Linked DNA regions of Homo sapiens: regions 2, 3 and 4 are each linked to region 1. Evidence: promoter capture Hi-C in human tissues and cell types (Jung and others, 2019). All regions are on one chromosome and are shown on one strand. The core of a region is centred on a gene start or on the middle of the fragment in contact, and the rest is flanking DNA. Distances in the headings are between cores, read along the strand shown. Region 1 holds the start of ZNF43 (zinc finger protein 43). Region 2 overlaps ZNF431 (zinc finger protein 431). Region 3 overlaps ZNF430 (zinc finger protein 430). Region 4 overlaps ZNF85 (zinc finger protein 85).

Region 1 (5,530 bases), core at 1,162-3,661:
TAATCTCAGCACTTTGGGAGGCCGAGGCAGGTGGATCTCCTGAGGTCGGCAGTTTGAGAACAGCGTGACCAACATGGGGAAACCCTGTCTCTACTAAAAATGCAAAATTAGCCAGGCGTGGTAGTGCATCCCTGTAGTCCTAGCTACTCGGGAGGCTGAGTCAGCAGAATCGCTTGAACCCAGGAGGCAGAGGTTGCAGTGAGCTGAGATGGCTCCACTGCAGTCAAGCCTAGGCAACAAGAGCTAAACTCCATCTTAAGGCGGGGCGGGGGAAAAAAAAGAGTCCTGTGCCTAGGGAAAACAAAAAGAAAAAAGAGGCCAGGCATGGTGGCGGAGGCGGGTGGATCATCTGAGGTTAGGAGTTCGAGACCAGCCTGGTCAACATGGAAAAACCTTGTCTCTAACAAAAATACAAAAATTAGCTGGGAATGGTGGTAGGTGCCGGTAGTTCCAGCTACTGGAGTGGCTGAAGCAAAAGAATCACTTGAATCAGGGAGGCAGAGGTTGCAGTGAGCAGAGATCACATCACTGCACTCCAGACTGGGCAGCAAAGCAACACTGTCTCAAAAAAAAAAAAAAAAAAGTAAAGAAAAAAAGAAAAGGAAAAGAGGCACAGAGATTTTTATTTTTTACAAACAGTGTAAGGGGATTATTTTTTGCTTTCTTTTCAATATGGAAAATATTTTCAAATAGAAAACAAAATTTAGGCCGGACTCGGTGGCTCACGCCTGTAATCCTTGCACTTTGGGAGGCCAAGGCGGGTGGATCACAAGGTCAGGAGTTCGAAACCAGCTTGGCCAACAAGGTGAAACCCTGTCTCAACTAAAAATACAAAAAAATTAACCAGGCACGGTGGCAGGTGCCTGTAATTCCAGCTACTCGGGAGGCTGAGGCAGGAGAATCGGTTGAACCCGGGAGGTTGCAATGAGCTGAGATTGCACCATTGCACTCCAGCCTGGGAAACAAAGCGAGAGGAAGGATGGAAGCAAGGATGGAAAGATGGAAGGAAGGAAGGAAGGAAGGAAAGAAAGAAGAAGGAAAGAAGAAAGGAAAATTTATTTAAGTCCATCCAATGATTTTTCAAAAAATAATTAAAATATCTGTATCAAAAATATACAGATATCTAAAATATCTTTATCTAAAACGTATCTCTGTATCTAAAATGTACACTAAAAAAAAAAAAAAAATAGCCCGGCTCGGTGGCTATTTTTAAGTGCTGTAATCCTAGCACTTTGGGAGGCTGAGGCGGGTGGATCATCTGAGCTCAGGAGTTCGAGACCACCTGGCCAATATAGTGAAATCCCGTCTTTACTAAAAATACAAAAAAAATTAGCTGGGTGTGGTGGCAGGCACCTGTAATCCCAGCTACTAAGGAGGCTGAGGCAAGAAAATCGCTTGAATCCGGGAGACGGAGGTTGCAGGGAGCCGAGATAGCACCATTGCACTCCAGCCTGGGCAGCAAAAGCGAAAGTCCATCTCAAAAAAAAAAAAAAAAAGAAAAAAAAGAAAAAATAGTTGATAACGTGAATTGCGGAGAAGAAGGTGGCATTTGGGAATGTCAGAAATAAAGGAAAATCTAGTTTAGTTTTTTTTTTTTTTTTTTTCCAGAGGGAGTTTCACTCTGTGGCCCAGGCTGGAGTGCAATGGCGCGATCTCGGCTCACTGCATCCTCCGCCTCCTGGGTTCAAGCGATTTTCCTGTCTCAGCCTCCCTAGTAGCTGCGATTACAGGCGCGCGCCACCACGCCCAGCTAATTTTTGTATTTTTAGTATAGACGGGGTTCACCATATTAGCCAGGCTGCTCTCGAACTCCTCACCTCGTCATCCACCCACCTCGACCTCCCAAAGTGCTGGGATTAAAGGCGTGACCCACCGCGCCCGGCCGACTCTCCTGTTTCTAATAGACCAAAAGAGGGACTAGAAATGCCACGGACCAAAGCTCTTCCTATTCATGAAACTGCATCACGAGTCAGGATTCTCTCCTGACGACCCTCCTGTGGCCCCTGCACAATTTGGGAGAGACGCCGCGTTGCGGCTGCAGAGCTGCCCACAGAGGGCTGCAGGCCGGGACACAGTCACTGCGCAGAGAAGAGACAGGACGCCCGGGGCTGCCTCCCAGAGCAGCCGCCATCTTATGGCTGAAGGGGATTGAGGCCGAGCTGGGCAAGAACTCCGGCACGCGCAGATTGTGGAGCTGACTGCGGGAAGGCCTGAGTCACGCCACAGCCCCTTCCCCCTCTCGGGATGTCGGACCGGCACTCTCACCATTTCTAGGCTTCCGGGGGGTCCTGGCGTCTTAGCTGTGGATCCCCCAATACCCGCAGGTCACAGAGCCACAGAGGCTGGACCTCTAGCAGCAGAGGACACAGAAGAACGAAGACGAGACGCAGAGCTCCAACTGCAGCCAGAGACAAAGGCCCCGCCACATCCCGGAAGCCGCCCTGTCCTCTCCTGCCCCGTGCCTGATTGGACGGTTTCCAGCCCAGCGTCCCTGATTGGATAACTTCTAAGGTCCTGCCCCCGCAAACCCTGAATGAAAGATGTGATCAGACGCTGGGCTGAAAGAAGAAAGAATGACAGCCTAGGCTGCCGCCTTTTCAGGCAGGGCTTCCTCCCTGAGCAGAGCAGGCCCAACCCAGAGGGTATTTGCCTTTAACCTTGTGTATAAGGTCATCTTCACTTATAAGTAATATACTATATGGATACTAAAAAATGAAAACAATTGTTTTTGAATTTCAGCTTTTATGACCTTCCTGGCTTCTGGCCCTTTGAGTAGGAAGTATTACAAACATTGAATATTTTATTATTTATCCTCTGTGGGGTTTTTCTTATTCTTGAGAGGGAGTCTCTGTTACCCAGGCTGGAGTGCAGGGTCATGACTGCAGCTCACTGCAGCCTCAGCAATCTAGGCTTGAGCAATTTACCTGTCTCAGCCTTCTGAGTAGCTGGGACCACTGGCATGTGGCCCCATGCTCAGCTAATTTGTTATCATATTTTTATTTGTAGAGATGAAGCCTCACTAGATAGCCCAGAATGGTCTCAAACTCTTGGGCTCAATGAATCCTACAAAGTCAGCCTCCCAAAGTACTGGGATTATAGGCATGAACCATCACATTCAGACTGAATTATTTTATCAAAAAATTTTTTTAAAGCATTGAGGTCCATTAATAGAATTCAAGGAAATGTTATGCACATGTTTTAAAAGCAAATTAAAAAGCATATACAAAAAGAGAACATTTTTTAAAAAACTAAATATAGGTAATGTTACCAGAAAAAGTTTAGATCTCCTGACTTTAAGTTGCAGTATGCTAATGGAATATTCTTAGTGGATAGTATTCCATTTTCATAAGAAATTCAAAACAAGATAATTTCCAGGTTTTAGAAACTGATGTAAAACATAAAAATATAGAAAATCTCTAATGTGTTCCCATGATATAGTATTACTTGAAATATAAACTGGGCAAACTCAGCAAAAGACAATTTAATCTCAAATTTCAAAATAGGTACAGAAGTTCTAATGGAATAATAAATGGAATCCAGGATTTTATTCATAAAAAGGCTAAAAAGTGACCATTCTCTGTGATTTTGAAAGTAGGAATTTGTGTAAACAGATGTGTATTTGCATCTACATTTGCCTACACTTACTTTTTTTTTTTTTTTTTTTTTTTTTTTGAGACGGAGTCTTGCTCTGTCGACCAGGCTGGAGTGCAGTGGCACAATCTCGGCTCACTGCAACCTCCGCCTCCCAGGTTCAAGCGATTCTCCTGACTCAGCCTACCAAGTAGCTGGGGATACAGGTGCATGACCCCATGCCCAGCTAATTTTTTTATGATATATTCATTTATTCAGATTACTCGATAATTAAAAATTATATTTTCTATGAATACCAGCTAATTTTTTGTATTTTTAGTAGAGACAGGGTTTCACCCTGTTAGCCAGGATGTCTCCTGACCTGGTGAACTGCTCGCCTTAGCCTCCCAAAGTGCTGGGATTACAGGTGTGAGCCACCATGCCCAGCAGCTTTTAAACATTTTAGGAAAGCATGAGACATCAATCAATATGTATAAGATCTTCCTTCCCTACCTTTTTCCTTCTCCACCTCCTCCTTCCTCTCTCTCTTTCTTGGTTTGATCCAGTAATGCAGGACAACTTGAGGTGAGGGCTTCCAGGTCATAAGTAAATAAGAGATAAAAGTCTGGATTCTTGAGTCCTTGATAAGCATTCAACTGAATACAATTTAGTCTGGCTCAGTGAACCTGCATATCTAAATTAACAGCAGTGCAGAGGAAGCAATCAGATGTGCATTTGTCTCAGGCGAGGCTCAGAGAAATGACTCTGAGTTCTGTCTGTCTTTGGTTCTCAAGGAATTTCCTTGTTGGCTAATTGTAAAGAAAGTATGTAGCTTTTTTATCTTTGTAGCTATCTTATTTAGAAATAAAATGGGAGGCAGATTTGCCTGACATAGTTCTCAACTTGACTTTTCTAGTGGCTTAGTAATTTTGGCATCAAGAGATTTATTTTCCTTTAGCAGTGGAAACCTCTTTCATTATCAAGTGTAGAGGTTAATAAAAAAAACTCATAAACACAAATATAATTATTGCTACATCTTTCAGAATAGCCCATTCTAAATTTTTTTTTTTTTTTTTGGAGATACAGTCTCGCTCTATTACCCAGGCTGGAGTGCAGTGGTGCAATCTCAGCTCACTGCAACCTCCGCCTCCTGGGTTCAAGCAATTCCCCTGCCTCAGCCTCCCGAGTAGCTGGGATTACAGATGTGCGCTACCACACCTGGCTAATTTTTGTATTTTTAGTAGAGACGGGGTTTCCCCATGTTGGCCAGGCTGGTCTCAAACTCCTGACCTCAGGTGATTCGCCCGCCTTGGCCTCCCAACGTGCTGGGATTACAGGAGTAAGCCACCGCACCCAGGGTAGAATAGCCCATCCTAATTTAATTCTCATTTACTCTAGACTTTTTTCATAATTTTATAGTGGATCTTAATGTTGGAGGCATTCAAACCAGAGCAACTCAATCTTGAATAGCAGCTGTGTGAAATATGCTGAAACCTACTTGGCTGCCTCCCCAGGTTAGGCATTCTTAGTCACAGGATGAGATAGGAGGTCAGCACAAGATAAACAAGATACACTGCACTTAGAAATTTGTCGTAATCTTCTCTGTTAGCAGGGTGCAGGCAGAAACACAGAATCACATATTTAGATCATGGATGCAGAGATATGTCACAAAGCTCCTGTGGTTAGGGTCAAGAAAGGAGCTTCCCACCCCCTAGATGTTGGTCTCAGCAATATATCACAATACCCAAATTATGTGAGACCCAGGCAAAAAGGAGAGTCACATCACCTAGGTGCTGGGTCCAGTGATATTTCACAATTATCCTTTGTAGCAGGTTCTAGTCAAAAAAGGAGAGTCACAACATTTAAGTGATGAAGAAAAAAGAATATGTCATAATACCTTTCTGAACAGAGCCCATTCAGGAGACTCATAATACCTAGGTGTTGGACCCAGCCATATATA
Region 2 (5,393 bases), core at 2,211-4,710, 660 kb before region 1:
TGTTTTTGTCAGGGTTTTCAAAGATCAAATGGTTGTAGATATGCAATCTTATTTCTCAGTTCTCTATTCTATTCCATTGGTCTATATGTATGTTTTTATAACAGTACCAGGCAGCTTTGGTTACTACAGCTTTGTAGTATAGTTTGAAGTTGGATATCATGATGCCTCCAGCTTTGTGTTTTTTGCCTAGAATTCTCTTGACTAGGCCAGGCACAGTGGCTCACGCCTGTAATCTCAGCATTTTGGGAGGCTGAGGCGGGTGGATCACTTGAGGTCAGGAGTTTGAGAAAAGCCTGGCTAACATAGTGAAACCCTGTCTCTACTAAAAATACAAAAAATTAGCCTGGCATGGTGGCACATTCCTGTAATCCTAGCTACTTGGGAGGCTGAGGCAGGAGAATCGCTTGAACCTGGGAGGCGGAGGTTGCAATGAGCTGAGATCATGCCATTGCACTCCTGCCTGGGTGACAGAGTGAGACTCTGTCTCAAAAAACAAAAAGAATTATCTTGGCTAGATGGGGTCTTTTGGGTTTTCATATGAGTTTTAAATTTTTTTTTTTTCTAATTCTGTGAAGAATGTTAGTGGTAGTTTAGTCAGAATAGCATGGAATCTATAAATTACTTTGAGCAGTATGGCCATTTTTACAATATTCTTTCTATCTTTTTTATTTGTTTGTGTCCTCTCTGATTTTCTTGGGCAGTGGTTTGTAGTTCTCCTTGAAGAGGTCCTTCACTTCCCTTGTTAGATTTACTCCTTGGTACTTTGTTCTCTTTGTAGCAATTGTGAATGGGAGTTTATTCATGATTTCGCTCTCTGTTTGTTTATTGTTGGTGTATTGAAATGTTTGTGATTTTGGCACATTGATTTTGTATCCTGAGACTTTGCTGAAGCTGCTTATTAGATGAAGAAGCTTTTGGGCTGAGACAATGGGGCTTTCTAGATCTAGGATCATGTCATCTACAAACAGAGACAGTTTGACTTCCTATTTGAATATCACTTATTTATTTCTCTCGCCTGATTTCCCTGGCCAGAACTTCCAATACTATGTTAAATAGGAGTGGTGGGGAGAGGGCATCCTCATCTAGTGCCAGTTTTCAAGGGGAATGCTTCCAGCTTTTGCCCTTTTATATCGGCTATGGGTTTGTCATAGATCTTATTATTTTGATGTATGTTTCATGAATACCTTGTTTATTGAGAGTTTTTAACATGAAGGGATGTTGAATTTGTTCGAAGGCCTTTTCCGCATTTTTGAGATAATCATGTAGTTTTTGTCTTTAGATCTGTTTATGTGATGAATTACATCGATTTTTGTATGCTGAACCAGCCTTCCATCCCGGGAATAAAGCTGACTTGAATTACATCAATTTTTGTATGTTGAACCAGCCTTGCATCCTGGGAATAAAGCTTTTTGACGTGCTGCTGGATTCAGTTTGCCAGCATTTTATTGAGAATTTTTGCATTGATGTTTATCAGGAATATTGACTTGAAGGTTTGTGTGTGTGTGTGTGTGTGTGTGTGTTGTTGTTGTTGTTTTATTTTGTTATATCTCTGCCAGGTCTTGATATCAGGGTGATGCTGGCCTCATAGAATGAGTTAAGGAGAGGCCCCTCCTTTTCCATCATTTGGAATCGTTTCAGAAGAAATGGTACCAGATCCTCTTTGTGCCTCTGGTAGAATTCAGCTATAAATTTATCTGATCCTGGACTTTTTTTGTTGGTAGGCTGTTCCCGCCTCAATTTCAGAACTTGTCATTGGTCTATGCAGCGATTCAACTTCTTCCTGGTTCAGTCTTGAAAGGATGGATGTGTCCAGGAATTTATCCATTTCTTCTAGATGTTCCAGTTTATGTGCACAGAGGTGTTTATAGTATTTTCCGAACATTGTTTTTATTTCTGTGGGGTCAGTGATGATAGCCCCTTTATCATTTTTTATTGTTTATTGCATTTTTCTCTCTTGTTTTATTAGTCTAGCTAGCAGTCTATTTTATTAGTTTTGTCAAAAAAAACCAGCTCCTGGATTCATTGAGTTTTTTTGAAGGGTTTTTTGGGTCTTTATGTCGTTCACTTCCACTCTGAATCTGGTTATTTCTTGTCTTCTGCTAGCTTGAAGTTTTGTTTGCTCTTGGTTTTCTCGTTCTTTTAGTTATGATGTTAGGGTGTCCATTTAAGATCTTTCTAGCTTTTTGATGTGAGTACTTAGTGCTATAAATTTCCCTGTTAACACTGCTTTAGCTGTGTTCCAGAGATTCTGTTACATTGTCTTTTTTTTTTTTTTTTTGAGACGGAGTCTCGCTCTGACCCCAGGCTGGAGTGTAGTGGTGTGATCTCGGCTCACTGCAACCTCCGCCTCCCAGGTTCAAGCAATTCTCCTGCCTCAGCTTCCCATGTAGCTGGGACTACAGGTGCCGGCCACCAAGCAAGGCTAATTTTTATATTTTTAGTAGAGACGGGGTTTCACCATATTGGTCAGGCTGGTCTCGAACTCCCGACCTCAGGTGATCTGTCCGCCTCAGCCTCCCAAAGTGCTGGGATTACATGTGTGAGCCACCACGCCCGGCTACATTGTCTCTTCATTCTCATTGGTTTCAAATAATTTTTTGATTTCTGATTTAGTTGTATTATTTACCCAGAAATAAAGAGGAGCAAGTTGTTCATTCAGGAAATTCATTCAGGAGTAGGTTGTTCAGTTTCGTTGTAGTTGCGGGATTTTGAGTAGCTGGGATTACAGGCGCCCACCACCACACCCAGCTAATTTTTTGTATTTTTAGTAGAGATGGGGTTTCACTATGTTGGTCAGGCTGGTCCCAAACTGTGTCATGACTCTTTATCCAGCTTGCCCTTCTGTGTCTTTCAGTTGAGGTATTCAGCCTATTACATTTAAGGTTAGTATTTTTATGTGTGATTTTGATTCTGTCCAAGTAGTGCTAGCTGCTTATTTTGCAGAGTTGTTGATGTAGTTGTTTTATAGCATAATTGATCTTTGTACTTCAGTGTGTTTTTGCAATGGCTGGTAATGGTTTTTTCTTCTTAACCTTAGTGCTTCTTTCAGGAGCTCTAGCAAGGCAGGCCTGGTGGTGATGTGCTCCCTCAGCATTTGCTTGTCTGAAAAGAATTTTATTTTTCTCCACTTATGCAGACTTACTATTGTTATTTTGTTAATTGTTGTATTTGCTTCTTGTATCTTTGTTCCTCATTTTCTCTTTTTCTGTCTTTGTGTCTTTGTTGTACTTATCTTGGTATGCTTTTACTTCTTTCTCATTTGTTTTGTGTACTTACGCAAACGTATTCTTGGGGTTACCTTGGGGATTATATAAAACCTCTAAAAGATACAACAATGTATTTTAATCTGGTAAAAAATGAACTTCAGGCCAGGTGTCGTGGCTCACACCTATATTCCCAGCACTTTGGGAGGCCGAGGCAGGCAGATCACAAGATCAAGAGATCGAGACCACCCTGGCCAATATGGTGAAACCCTATCTCTACTAAAAATACAAAAATTAGCTGGGCATGGTGGTGCACACCTGTAGTCCCAGCTACTCGGGAGGCTGAGGCAAGAGAATCACTTGAACCCAGGAGGCGGATGTTGCCGTGAGCTAAGATTGCACCATCCAGCCTGGCGACAGAGTGAGACTCCATATCAAAAGAAAAAAAAAAAAAAAAGAACTTCAGTTGCATCCAAAAATTTTTTCTCATTATATCTGCCTTCAAATTTGTCATTGATGTTGCTAATTGTATATTTTATGTTGTATATTTGCTAACAAATGTTTATAATGATTTCTATTCTTGTACCTTTCAAATTTTAGAGAATAATTAATATTTTTTGCACTATTATTATAATGCTAAGAAATTCCATTTTTGTGTATGTGCATTTTTTTTCCCAGAGAATAATGTCTTTTATATGATGTGTTGTTTTGTTGAATCATGTTATTTTCAGTAGCAGCAACGGTTTTCAGCATCTTTTATATGTAAGGCATATGAAAAGCCAATGTACTTTTTCAGTATTTGGTTATTTTTAAAGGTTTTTTTTCTTTTTACTTGGAAGGACAGATATGCTGATGGTATTATTCTCACTTTATAGCTATTTTTTTCAGGACTTTGACTATATCACACAGTTTCCTTCTGGCCTGCAAAGTTTTTGTTGACAGTTCACCGGCTATCTCATAAGACTATGCTTGTAAATGACATGTCGTTTTTATCTTGCAGCTCCATTCTCTTCTTGTCTGTGACTTTCGAAATTGTGCTTATATATGTGTTTGTTATAAATATCTTTATGTGTATCCTAGTGTATTTGTTGAGCTTCTTCATTTTGACATTATTTTTTCTTTCAGAATTTTTTAGTTATATTTTCCTTTACAATTTCTGTTTTTGGATATTTTAAATATTTTTGTTATTCTCATTTTTTCTGATTTTCTATAGTTGTCTGTGTCCTTATTTTACTCATTGAGTATTCAATTTATTTTAAATTTTTAAAATTAATGTATACATCTTTTTTATGGTTTCTTTCTGAAAATCTTATAATTTTGGTGGAGCGATTTTGCCCTATTTTGTATTCATTGTAATCTTTGATTAATATTTGGACATTAAATATAGCTACCTGTCACATTGTTTATAATGTAGCTTTGTCCTGGCATAGTCTGAAAACAATTATCTTGGTTTGAGATCCTGTGAGACTCTCAAACATGTTCTTTGAATGTGTCTTGTCTAAAATTTTGTGTTTATTTTTTAGTTAAAGGAGTTTCTGTTTCATCTTAATCAGCAGTCATTTGCTGTATCTGTTCCCTGTCTGTGGTACTGCAGTCTCTCTGTTGCTGTAACATTTACCTTTGGTCTCAGCAGAAGTAAACTGTAATTCCAAAATATACCACCATTTCTTTCAGCACTTTATGTTATGGGAGACCAGTTTCTGGAAGGGCCCCTAGAAGCAAGTAATATAGATGTATGTGCCAGTGTTTTACTTGTTTATTAAAAAAGAAACGAAAAGTTAGCAATTTACTTTGAAAGGCACTATGTTGTATTGTTGAGTAGGAAGAACTGTGTTGGGTAAATGTAACAGACTTTTCTTTTTCTTCTGTGTCTTTGCATTCCTGTGTACTCACCTGTGTGCTCACCTGGGGAACTTTACACACTTGTTTATAAGTTGTCCTCAAATATATTTTGGTCAGTATATTTTTATTAGATTTATATGTCTATGAAGGATTTAGGGCCTATGGTATTTTATTATGGCATCTTGTTTATGTAGTTTGTATAATGTAGGTTAGATTTGTAAAGTATGTTTATCAGAGTCTAGTAAGTTGAATAATTTGTTGTTTGTATTTCTTTCAGCTATGTGTTCTTATTTTACCAAAGACCTTTGGCCAGAGCAAGACATAAAAGATTCTTTTCAACAAGTAATA
Region 3 (5,986 bases), core at 2,157-4,656, 810 kb before region 1:
CATATCTTCTTAATACAGACTGAAGTTTCTGTCATTGAGAACAGAGTGATCCATAAACCTGGTCATCACACTTTTTATGAGATAGTAATGTGGGCCCCAGATCCATGGCATGGTTTCCTCTGGATGCACTCCTGGATCTAATTTTTGTATTTTTAGTAGAGACGGGGTTTCACCATGTTGACCAGGATGGTCTCCGTCTCTTGACCTCATGATCCACCTGCCTCGGCCTCCCAAAGTGCTGGGATTACAGGCATGAGCCATCATGCCTGGCCGTAATCTCTGACTTTTTTTTTTTTTTCTTGAGACGGAGTCTCACTGTGTTGCCCCGGCTGGAGTTCAGTGGCACGATCTCAGCTCACTGCAACCTCCGCCTCCCAGGTTCAAGTTATTCTCCTGTCTCAGCCTTCTGAGTAGCTGGGATTATAGGCGCACGCCACCACGCCTGGCCAGTTTTTGTATTTTTAGTAGAGATGGAGTTTCACCATGTTGATCAGGCTGGTCTCAAACTCCTGACCTTGTGATCTGCCTGCCCCAGCCTCCCAAAGTGCTGGGGTTACAGGCGTGAGCCACCGTGCCCGGCCAATCTCTGACTTCTTTAAGCAGTGTTTTGTGATTCTTGTCATAGGGATCTTTCACCATTCTGATTAGCTGTATTCCTAGATATTCTATTCTTTTTGTGGCAATTGTGAATGGGATTATGTTTTTGATTTGGCTTTTGGCTTGGATGTTTTGATGTACAGAGATTCTACTGATTTTTGTACGTGTATTTTGTATCCTGAAACTTTGCTAAAGTTGTTTATTAGTTTAAAGAGCTTTCCTGCTGAGACTATAGGGTTTTGAAGATATAGAATCATGTCATCTGCACACAGGGATAGTTAGACTTCCTTTCTTCCTGTTTGGATGCCTTTTTTCTTTTCTTTTCTTTTTTTTTTTTTTTTTTTTTTTGAGACAGAGTCTTGCTCTCGCCAGGCTGGAGTGCAGTGGTGTGATCTCGGCTCACTGCAACCTCCGCCTCCCAGGTTGAAGCGATTCTCCTGCCTCAGCCTCCTGAGTAGCTGGGACTACAGGCACATGCCACCATGCCAAGCTAAGTTTTGTATTTTTAGGAGAGACGGGGTTTCACCATGTTGGCCAGGATGGTCTCGATCTCTTGACCTCGTGATCTGCTCACCTCAGCCTCCCAAAGTGCTGGGATTACAGGCGTGAGCCCCCATGCCCGGCAGATGCCTTTTATTTTCATCTCTTCTCTGATTGCTCTGGCCAGGATTTCCAATTTTATGTTGAATAGGATGTTTGAGAGAAGGCATCCTTATCTTGTGCCAGTTTTCAAGGAGGAATGCTTCCAGCTTGTGTCCATTCAGTGTGTTGGCTGTAAGTTTGTCGTTGATGTCTCATTGTTTTGAAGTATATACCTTCAATGCCTAGTTTGTTAAGGGTTTTAAACATGAAAAATGTTAAATTATATTGAAAGTATTTTTAGCATCTATTGAGATAATCTTGGTATTTGTTATTAGTTCTCTTTATGTGATGAATAACATTTATTGATTGTATATGGAACCAACTTGCCTCCCAGAGATGCAGCCTACTTGATTATAGTGGATTAGCTTTTTGATGTTCTTCTGAATTCAGTTTCCCAGTATTTTGTTGATGGTATTTTCATCAATGTTCATCAAGGATATTGGCTTGAAGTTTTCTTTTTTTTTTAATCTCTGCCAGGTTTTGATATCAGAATGATGCTATTCTTATATATAATGAGTTGAAAAGGAGTCCTTTCTTTTCAATATTTTGAAGTATTTTTAGTAGAAGTGGTACTAGCTCTTTTTTGTACATCTGGTAGAGTTCAGCTAGGAATTTGTCTGGTTCTTTGCTTTTTTTTGGCTAGTAGGCTATTTCTTACTAATTCAATTTTGGAGCTTGTTATTGGTCTATTCAGGGATTCAGTTTCTTATTTGTTCAGTCTCTGGAAAATGTGTCTTTGCTCCCAGGTTACTATTCTCAAGCTTGGCCCAAATAAACTCTTATATTCATGTTGCCTCAGCTTTTTCCTTTTAGGTAGTCATATCACGTAGAATGAGCTAGAGCAGCCTCTATGAGGGGATCTCTCCTTTGATTGTACTCCACTTGCTGTAACACCCAAGAATGCAGAGTGTGGTTGATCCTACCTAGAATCTGCACATAAGGTCTGGCCTCTTCCTGGGATTTACAGGACACGGCCAGACTTTAGGTTGAGAATGTACAGAAAACCAACAGGAGGCATTTTCTCCATTGTGAGTTGTCAACATAGACATCTTAAAGCCCCCTTTGACAGTGTGGTTCTTTAAGCTTTTCAGATCTTGTTCAGTGATTTGCCACAGTTATGTGAGAGGCTCCAGATATAAATAGAATCTGATGACAGAATCAGCATTTTAAGAGTGAGATATCAAAGTCATAATGTATCCATAGCCATGACCACAACTATACCTACCTGTAAAATGTGATACTGGAGTAGAGTATTCTTGTCTTTCTCCTTACCCAAAAGCTAGCAAATTGGGACAAGTGATTAGGTTCTGGAGCTCCACCAGGCCATTTTCTATTTAGAATCAGCCTGAATCTCTCCAGCCTGGATTATCATTGGGCCATCAGCCCAGGGTCACTAAGAACCCTCTCACAATCACCTAGACGTCTTTGAGACATTTGAGGATGTCCAGGGCAGAATTGTGTCAGGCTGACAAGAGTGGTTAATTCTGCTTCTGGCTTGGTGTAAGAGAAATGAGTCATTCTGTGTGTGTGTGGTTTTTTTAGGGTTTTTTTTCTTTTTTTAGACGGAGTATTGCTCTATCGCCCAGGCTGGAGTGCAGTGGCGCGATCTCGGCTCACTGCAACCTCCGCCTCCCGGGTTCAAGTGACTCTTCTGCCTCAGCCTCCCAAATAGCTGGGAATACAGGCACTTGCCACCATGCCTGGCTAATTTTTGCATTTTTAATAAAGACAGGGTTTCACCATATTGCACAGGCTGGTCTTGAACTCCTGACCTTGTGATCCGCCCACCTCAGCCTCCCAAAATGCTGGGATCACAGGTGTGAGCCACCATGCCTGGCAATTCTGTGTTTTTTTCTCCCCTTATACAAGAGATAACTTTGGTTGGTACCCAGATGAGAGTTTCTCAAGTTTCCTGATACTTGGATGAAAGCAATAGGAGGTCTGGTGACTCAAACAGATAAAGTAATTGTTTTCATTTTATATGGCCATTCAAAAAACAGATGAAGCAGTCATGATCCTTACTATCCAGGAACATGTCTAGACTAACAACTGGATACATGGGTGAATTAAGCATTATATGGTTGGTACAATGAATAGATGTGTCCAAAAAAAATTGGGGCCACTGTTTTATATTGTTACTTCTGATACCATCAGCTGAGGAGATATTTATGGAGTGAAGATTTGTTATTATTTGTGTTTCCTTTACTTTGCTAAGAATATATATTTATCTTCTAGTATAATTATTCTAAAGAACTTTAATAAATTTGTTTAAATTGCTTATTAGTATATGTTATAAAATTGACAGGGCAGTGGCAAAAATAGATTAAAGTTACATAAGCTCTGGGATTTAAGATTCTCTTATGTAAGCTTAGGAAAAACAGAACTGGAAATACCTTGGTGGCAGAGAGAACATAATTCTACATAGGGTCCTTTCCCTGCCCAAATTCTGTTCAGATTCACGTTTTTTGGAGGCCTTATTTATGTCTGGCCCCGCTCTGGAGCCTTACCTCACAAAACTGATTTATAAAAATCAGAGTTTTGGCTGGGTGTGGTGGCTCACACCTGTAATCCCAACACTTTGGGAGGCCGAGGCAGACAGATCATGAGGTCGAGAGTTTGAGACCAGCCTGACTAACATGGTGAAACCCCGTCTCTACTAAAAATACAAAAATTAGCCGGGCGTGGTGGCACATGCCTGTAATCCCAGCTGCTCAGGAGGCTGGGGCAGGAGAATCGCTTGAACCCGGGAGGCGGAGGTTGCATTGAGCCAAGATTGTGCCACTGCACTCCAGCCTGGTGACAGAGCGAGACTCCATCTAAAAAAAAAAAGACTGGAGTTTTGTCTGGTGAGTCCTGCTGCTTTTCTAGAGCTGGTGCTCACAATTTTCTGAAACCCAAAAACAGATAAATGACAGAAATAAACTATTTATTTTAGGATCTTATTTTTTGAATTTGTATTAAAACCAGTGCTTACAGAAACATTCCATTTAGCACCTTGTTTTCTGTTTCTGCCAATCTAGCAGTTGCTCCACAAGCCACAAACAAGTAAATGTATACACAATAAAAATTTCTCTAAACTACATTAAACTTTTTCTATGTTCTTCTCATCTGCCTGTATTTAACTTTTATTCTATACCTTTAAAACAAAATCAATGACAGAGAAACAGAGGGAGAAATAAAAATGCTGAACCCTTTATCTAAGTCCTGGGAATTATTGAACACTTAGTATCAACTTCCAGGGTGTTATTAGGATTAAATCACAAAATGTGTTATTCCCAGCACAGTGCTCTGTAACATATCCTTGAGCACATAGTACCTGCTTAATAAACATTGCATTTGTATATGTGTACATGTTATTTTCCAAAGGCAGATTTATTCAGACATTGCCGCCTTCTGTTTGTTCTGTAAACTTTAAAGAGCCAGCGAAGAATATAAAAATTTAAGATGGAGATTGGTTTTATTTGTACCAGAAGTATTTGTGTTGTGACAAGAGTGCTAAGTGTAAGGGACTCTGTGCTGTACCTGCTTCTCTAACTAATGCTAATGAGCCCAGGGGGAACAACATCAGCATTGACAGGGAACTTGTTTGAAACACGCATTCATGAACCCTTTTCAAACTTGCAGATCCACATTACGTAGAGTGGGGCCAAAATTACCAAACGAGTTTTAAGCTCATTAAAGTTTGAGAGGCAGTGCTTAGCTAAGTGGTTATCAGCCCCGTCTTGTTTTTTTTGTTTTGTTTTGTTTTCTGTTTTTGAGACAGGATCTCACTCTGTCACCCAGTCTGGAGTGCAATGGCATAATCTCGGCTCAGTGAAACCTCCGCCTCCTGGGTTCAAGCCATTCTTATGCCTCAGCCTCCTGAGTAGCTGGGATTACAGGCACCCGCCACCATTCCTGGCTAATTTTTTGTGTTTTTAGTAGAGATGAGGTTACACCATGTTGGCCAGGCTGATCTTGAACTCCTGACCTCAGGTCATCCATGTGCCTCGGCCTCCTAAAGTGCCAGGATTACAAGTGTGAGCCACCGCGCCCGGCCTCTGCCCAGTCTTCTAATTAGGATTACATGGCAGAAATCTCTGTACTTATGCCCTTTCCATGGATTTCGTTTATTGTTCTGGGTGGAAGCATCCATGTTGTTTTAATGAAGTGCCTCATGTGACTCTAAGGTGAGGCCAGAATCAAGTATGAGGGCTTCAATATACATTCATGAGAGCTAAGTGCCACCTTTGCACTAAAGGGTGGTCTCAGGGCCCGTTCTGTTTGGGTTTGGTAGGGACAGGGGAGTGTGGCTCATATTTCCATTACTGTAGCAGAAATTGCTGGTGTCTGTGGCAGAGGAGGGCACCTAAGGACAGGAAAAGAGAAACATACTTTTATATTCATAGAGCAGCTCGTTGTTCCTGAATCCTTTCTGTTATAAAGGACAGAGAAATGGGTGGACTTTTTCTGCAGGACCTTCCTTCTGTTTGTGTGCGTGATGGTAGCAGACAAAAAGGTGGTGCTGACATTTTTAAAGGAACGTTCTCAAAATGCAGGTATAACTTGTCCAGAGAATGTTATCTAAAAAGGATTTTCAGAGAAAGAAAGAGAAAAAATGGCTTTTTTTCAGCTAAACGTGTCTCAGAAGAAGAGCTGTGTGCACTCTGCTTCATGGAATGCCATGTGTTTAGTACTTGCAAATCTTTACTTCTCGATTTGTGTTTTTCCTTCTTAAGGAGTTTGTTTTAACTACATTAAAAAATTC
Region 4 (5,392 bases), core at 1,294-3,793, 900 kb before region 1:
TGGAGTCTTGCCTCACACAATTTGTTAGAAGAAATCAAAGTTTTGGGCCAGGCGTGGTGGCTTACGCCTATAATCCCAGCACTTTGGGAGGCCAAAGCAGGCAGATCATAAGGTCAGGAGTTCGAGACCAGCCTGACCAACATGGTGAAACCCCATCCCTACTTAAAAAATACAAAAATTACCCTGGTATGTTGGCATGCACCCGTAATCCCAGTTACTTGGGAGGCTGAGGCAGGAGAATCTCTTGAGCCCAGGAGGCAGAGGTTACAGTGAGCTGAGATCATGCCATTGCACTCCAGCCTGGGTGACAGAGCAAGACTCCGTCCCAAAAAAAAAAAAAAAAAAAAAAGAAATCAGAGTTTTTGTCTGGTGAATCCTTCTGCCTTTCTAGAGTTCATGCTCACAATTTCCTTAAACCCCAAAACAGATAAATGGTAAAAATAAAGTATGTATTTTAGGGTCTTAATTTTTAAATTTTGTATTAAAGTGAGTGCTTGCAGAAACATTCTATTTAACAACTTGTTTTCTATTTTTGCAAATCCAGTAGTTGCTCTGCAAGTCACATAAAATTAAATACAAACACAGTAAAAAACTTCTCTAAAATACATTAAACTTTCCTTTCTGTATTCCTCTCATCTGTCTATATTTAGCTTTTCTTCTATGCAATTAAAAAAAATCAATGACAGAGAAACAAGAAGAAATGGAAAGGCAGGGCTCTTTATTTAAATCCTAAGAATTATTAAACACTTAATAACATCTTTCAGGGTGTTATGATGATGAAATCACGTAATGTGTTATGGCCAACACAGTGCTTTTTAACATCCTTTTGAGTACATAGTTCCTGCTTAATATATCTTGCATTAGTACAGGTGTACATGTTGTTGCCAAATGCAGGCTTATTCAAACATTGCTGCCTTCTGTTTCCTCTGTAAACTTTAATGAGCCAGCAAAGAATATGATACTTAAGGATGGAGATGGATTTTATTTATTTATTTAGAGACAGAGTTTCGCTCTTGCTGCCCAGACTGGAGTGCAATGGCACGATCTTGGCCCACCACAACCTCTGCCTCCCAGGTTCAAATGATTCTCCTGCCTCAGCCTCCCTAGTAGCTGGGATTACAGACATGCACCACCACACCCAGCTAATTTTTTTGTATTTTTAGTAGAGACTGCGTTTCTCCATGTTGGTCAGGCTGGTCTCAAACTCCCGACCTCTGGTGATCCACCTGCCTCGGCCTCCCAAAGTGCTGAAATTACATGCATGAGCCACTGCGCCTGGCAGAGATGGGTTGTCTTTATTTGTACCAGAAGTATTTGGTTGTGACAAGAGTGCTGAGTGTAAGGGAACCTGTGCTGTGCCTGCTTTCTCTAATGCCAATAATGAGCCCAAGGGAAGCAACATCAGCACTGACAGGGTTGTTACCTATTCATGGACTCTTTTCAAACCTGCAGAATCATATTACATAGAATGGAGCCAAAATTACCAAGTGATTTATAAGCTCATTAAAACTTGAGAGGCAATGCTTAGCTAAGTGGTTATCAGCCCAGGCTTCTCATTAGGATTCCATGGCCAATTTGCAGAAATCTCTTTACTTGTGCCCTTTCCACAGATTCTGTTTATTGTTCTAGGGGGAAGCAGTCATGTTGTAGTAATGAAGTGCCTCATGTGACTCTTAAGTTGAGGCCAGAATCAAGTATGAGGTGTTCCAGATACATTCATGAGTTAAGTTCCACCTTTGCACTAAAGGGTGGCCGCAGGACTGTTTCTGTTTGGATTTGGTAGGGACAGAGCAATGTGGCCATATTTTCTTTTTCTTTTTCTTTTTCTTTTTTTTTTTTTTTTTTTGAGGTGCAGTTTCACTGGAGTGCAGTGGTGCAATCTCGGCTTACTGCAACCTCTGCCTGCTGGGTTCAAGCGATTCTCTTGCTTCAGCCTCCCGAGTAGTTGGGACTACAGGCACATGCCACCACGCCTGGCTAATTTTTTCTATTTTTAGTAGAGATGCTGTTTCATCGTGTTAGCCAGGATGGTCTCAATCTTCTGACCTCAGGATCTGCCTGCCTCGGCCTCCCAAAGTACTGGGATTATAGGCGTGAGCCACCAAGCCCGGCCATGGCCCATATTTTCATTATTGTAGCAGAAATTGCTGGTGTCTGTGACAGGGGAGGGCACCTGAGAACAGGAAAAGTGAAACATATTTTGATACCCATGGAGCAGCTCATTGTTCCTGAATCTCTTCCATTATAAAGGACATAAATGAGTGAGCTTTTTCTGCAGGTCTTGATCCTTCTGCCTGTGGGTCTGGTGGTAGCAGATGAGCAGTTGATGTTGACATCTTTAAAGACATATTCTCAACATGCAGCTGTAATTTGTTCAAAGAATCTCATCTGGAAAGGATTCCCAGAAAAGGAGGAAAAAGAGGAAAAAAATGGCTTCTTTTTTTAAAGCAAAACATGTCTCAGATCAAGAGCTGTGTCCACTTTGCCTCCTAGAATGCCATGCAAATCATTACTTCTCTATTGTATTACCCCTCCCTAAAGAGTTTAACTACTTGTAAAAATTCTTATGATAGTCAAGGGTGTCTGAAAAGTATTTTTTTTCTATATACCAGAGCCCTTTCTACATTCTTTACATTGTGGCTTTTTATATGCCATGCAGAATTCCTACCACAAATTTATAATCTGCACTATTAAAAATGTTCCCTTTGTGGCTCTTGAACATGAAAAGGTGTGGATACTCAAGATTTCTATTGGGGGAAAGCTGGAGTCATTTGTAAAGATGGAAAACATGTAATGTTGAGGTTCCATCTGTATTCTCCATTACCTCTGTGCAAAACAGGATCAAGGAAATGCTTAGTTAAACAAGATGACATTTATTACCCAGAAAGTTCTAAAAAAAAAATTATCAGGAGATACCTGCTCTCTAGGGTGCTAAAGAAAGATGATTTAAAATTACTATTACAAATTATAGACAGGGAAGATATCTGTATCCTGAACTTTGCATAAAACTGATTTTTTAATGTTAAAATTCAGACTATAGTTTGGAGGAGCAGTATCACAGCCGTGATGCTGTGTCATTTCATGTGCATCAACACATCATAAAAATATGTCCTAGGATGGGCGCGGTGGCTCAGCCTGTAATCCCAGCACTTTGGGAGGCTAAGGCAGGCAGATCACAAGGTCAGGAGATCTAGACCATCCTGGGAATGGTGAAACCCCGTCTCTACTAAAAATACAAAAAAAAAAAAAATTAGCCGGGCATGGTGGTGGGCACCTGTGGCCCCAGCTACTTGGGAGGCTGAGGCGGGAGAATGCCGTGAACCCAGGAGGCGGAGCTTGCAGTGAGCTGAGATTGCACCACTGCACTCCAGCCTGGGCAGCAGAGCGAGACTCCGTCTCAAAAAAAAAAAAAAAAAAAATTTGTCCTAGTGCAGTTCATGTTAATGATTCACTTGGTTAAAGAGCTCTCTGACAGATTTTGTCACTATAGAGATAATTATTTTTTCTTCATTATTATCTTAATGCAGCTAATGTGCATAAACCATCACAGTTAATCCAGCAGCTGCCCTTTTTTCTTAGTTTTTTTTTTTTGCATACATCTGTCTTTGGAAAGTCAAAGCTCTTATCTTTGTTTACAGGCCAGAAAAATTAGGAAAAACACAGGTTCTTCCCCTTACTGGATGTTTGACAAAATATTCTTCTTGGCCAAAAACATTAACCTTACTGGTGAGCTTGTTAGAAATTCAGACAATCAGACTTTATTCCAGATCATCTGAAAAAATAATCTGCATTAACAAGTTCTCCAGTTTATTGTACACATTAAAATTTAAAAAGTACCTTCTAACTCAACCTGTCTTTTCCATCTGAAAAATATACACAACTCATTCTGTAGAATGTGTATATGGCATCCAAAAATACACATTTTTATGCCCTTAATTTTATACTATATCATCCAGAAAAGTATCATGTATACACTGGTATTGTGGATCTTATGCCACTCTCTTTTCTTAGAGTTAAAAAATATATTAGAGAATATTTCTGTGTTAAAAAAATTATTTTATTTTATAATTTTAGTCACTCCTGTAAGTCAGAAACAGTTACCTGTACTCTCTCATTTCACCTTGAGTAAAATTAAAAATGCTTTTCATAACCAGTTGGTAATTATGTGTGTGTGTGTGTGTGTGTGTGTGTGTGTGTGTGTGTGTATGTGTATGTGTGTGTATCTTTCAGGGACCATTGACATTTAGGGATGTGGCCATAGAATTCTCTCTGAAGGAGTGGCAATGCCTGGACACTGCACAGCGGAATTTATATAGAAATGTGATGTTAGAGAACTACAGAAACCTGGTCTTCCTGGGTGAGGATAACTTCAATACACAATTTCTAATATGCCCTAAAGGTTTTATTTCTTTTATTTGTGGAATGTTTTTCTGGTAAAGTGTGCTTTGCATAAATTAGTTTCAGATCCCTGTTTTCAAGAAAATCTTGGGGATTAATACATGTAGAAAAGAATTTCTGCAAGATGTTTCATTTTGACCTTAACTTTCCAAATTTCTGAGCTGATCTGTATCCTTCACTGTAGATTACTAAATTCCACAAATTTAATGGCATAAAATTTTTGCCCACACCTTAAAATGTAATTGCCAACACCAATTTTTGATTCAATAGTACTGGATAGTAAAATTAAGAAACTGGGCCAGGCTTGGTGGCTCACGCCTGTAATCCCAGCACTTCGGGAGGCTGAGGCGGACGGATCACGAGGTCAGGAGATCGAGACCATCCTGGCTAACACGGTGAAACCCCGTCTCTACTAAAAATACAAAAAATTAGCTGGGTGTGGTGGCAGGCACCTGTAGTCCTGTAGTCCCAGCTACTAAGGAGGCTGAGGTAGGAGAATGGCATGAACTCAGGAGGCGGAGCTTGCAGTGAGCTGAGATCACGCCATTGCACTCCAGCCTGGGTGACAGAATGAGAGTGAGACTCCATCTCAAAAAAAAAAAAAAAAAGAACCTACAAATCAAAAATATTTTTTAAATATTTGAAAATGTCTGTTATAAATTAGTATTTTGGGATTAATTTACTAGCTAAGCACATTACTAGATTGGTCATTAGAGAATATGAGCAAGATTTATATTATTTATTTTTAATAAAACAGGTATTACTGTTTCTAAGCCAGACCTGATCACTTGTCTGGAGCAAGGGAAAGAGGCCTGGAGTATGAAGAGACATGAGATCATGGTGGCCAAACCCACAGGTAGGTGAAAGTGAAAATGAATACAGCAGATGACACATGAGAGGTCCAAAGGCCAAAGAGAAAGCCAGTCCTTAAAATGTGATTTAGGAAGCTGTGTTCCAAAGAAAATAGTTTCTCAGAAGCCTGAGGTTTCTTTCT

What was found. Contacts are between HindIII fragments. The study calls those that stand out against the background at their distance.
Region 2: a fragment that was not itself captured here is called in contact with the fragment with the promoter of ZNF43 in region 1 in 1 of the 25 tissues and cell types used here (pancreas).
Region 3: a fragment that was not itself captured here is called in contact with the fragment with the promoter of ZNF43 in region 1 in 1 of the 25 tissues and cell types used here (spleen).
Region 4: a fragment that was not itself captured here is called in contact with the fragment with the promoter of ZNF43 in region 1 in 1 of the 25 tissues and cell types used here (dorsolateral prefrontal cortex).

The regions. Positions count from the first base shown.
Region 1 is chr19:21,833,771-21,839,300 of GRCh38, forward strand. It overlaps ZNF43 (zinc finger protein 43), which reads right to left and starts at 2,412. Exons shown (of 4, transcript NM_003423.4): 1 at 2,266-2,412. The coding sequence starts at 2,268. RefSeq lists enhancers at 1,503-2,476, 2,006-2,095, 2,136-2,185, 2,206-2,365, 2,477-3,449. The HindIII fragment of the contact is 27,139 bases long and covers 1-5,530 here.
Region 2 is chr19:21,177,301-21,182,693 of GRCh38, forward strand. ZNF431 (zinc finger protein 431) reads left to right here. Exons shown (of 5, transcript NM_133473.4): 5 at 5,323-5,393. Among named protein-coding and RNA genes, the nearest start is that of ZNF431, 38 kb to the left of the region's middle. The HindIII fragment of the contact is 4,605 bases long and covers 1,159-5,393 here.
Region 3 is chr19:21,025,906-21,031,891 of GRCh38, forward strand. All of the region lies in intron 2 of ZNF430 (zinc finger protein 430), which reads left to right. Among named protein-coding and RNA genes, the nearest start is that of ZNF430, 8.2 kb to the left of the region's middle. The HindIII fragment of the contact is 6,523 bases long and covers 146-5,986 here.
Region 4 is chr19:20,929,794-20,935,185 of GRCh38, forward strand. It overlaps ZNF85 (zinc finger protein 85), which reads left to right. Exons shown (of 4, transcript NM_003429.5): 2 at 4,231-4,357; 3 at 5,156-5,254. Among named protein-coding and RNA genes, the nearest start is that of ZNF85, 9.2 kb to the left of the region's middle. The HindIII fragment of the contact is 8,469 bases long and covers 1-5,392 here.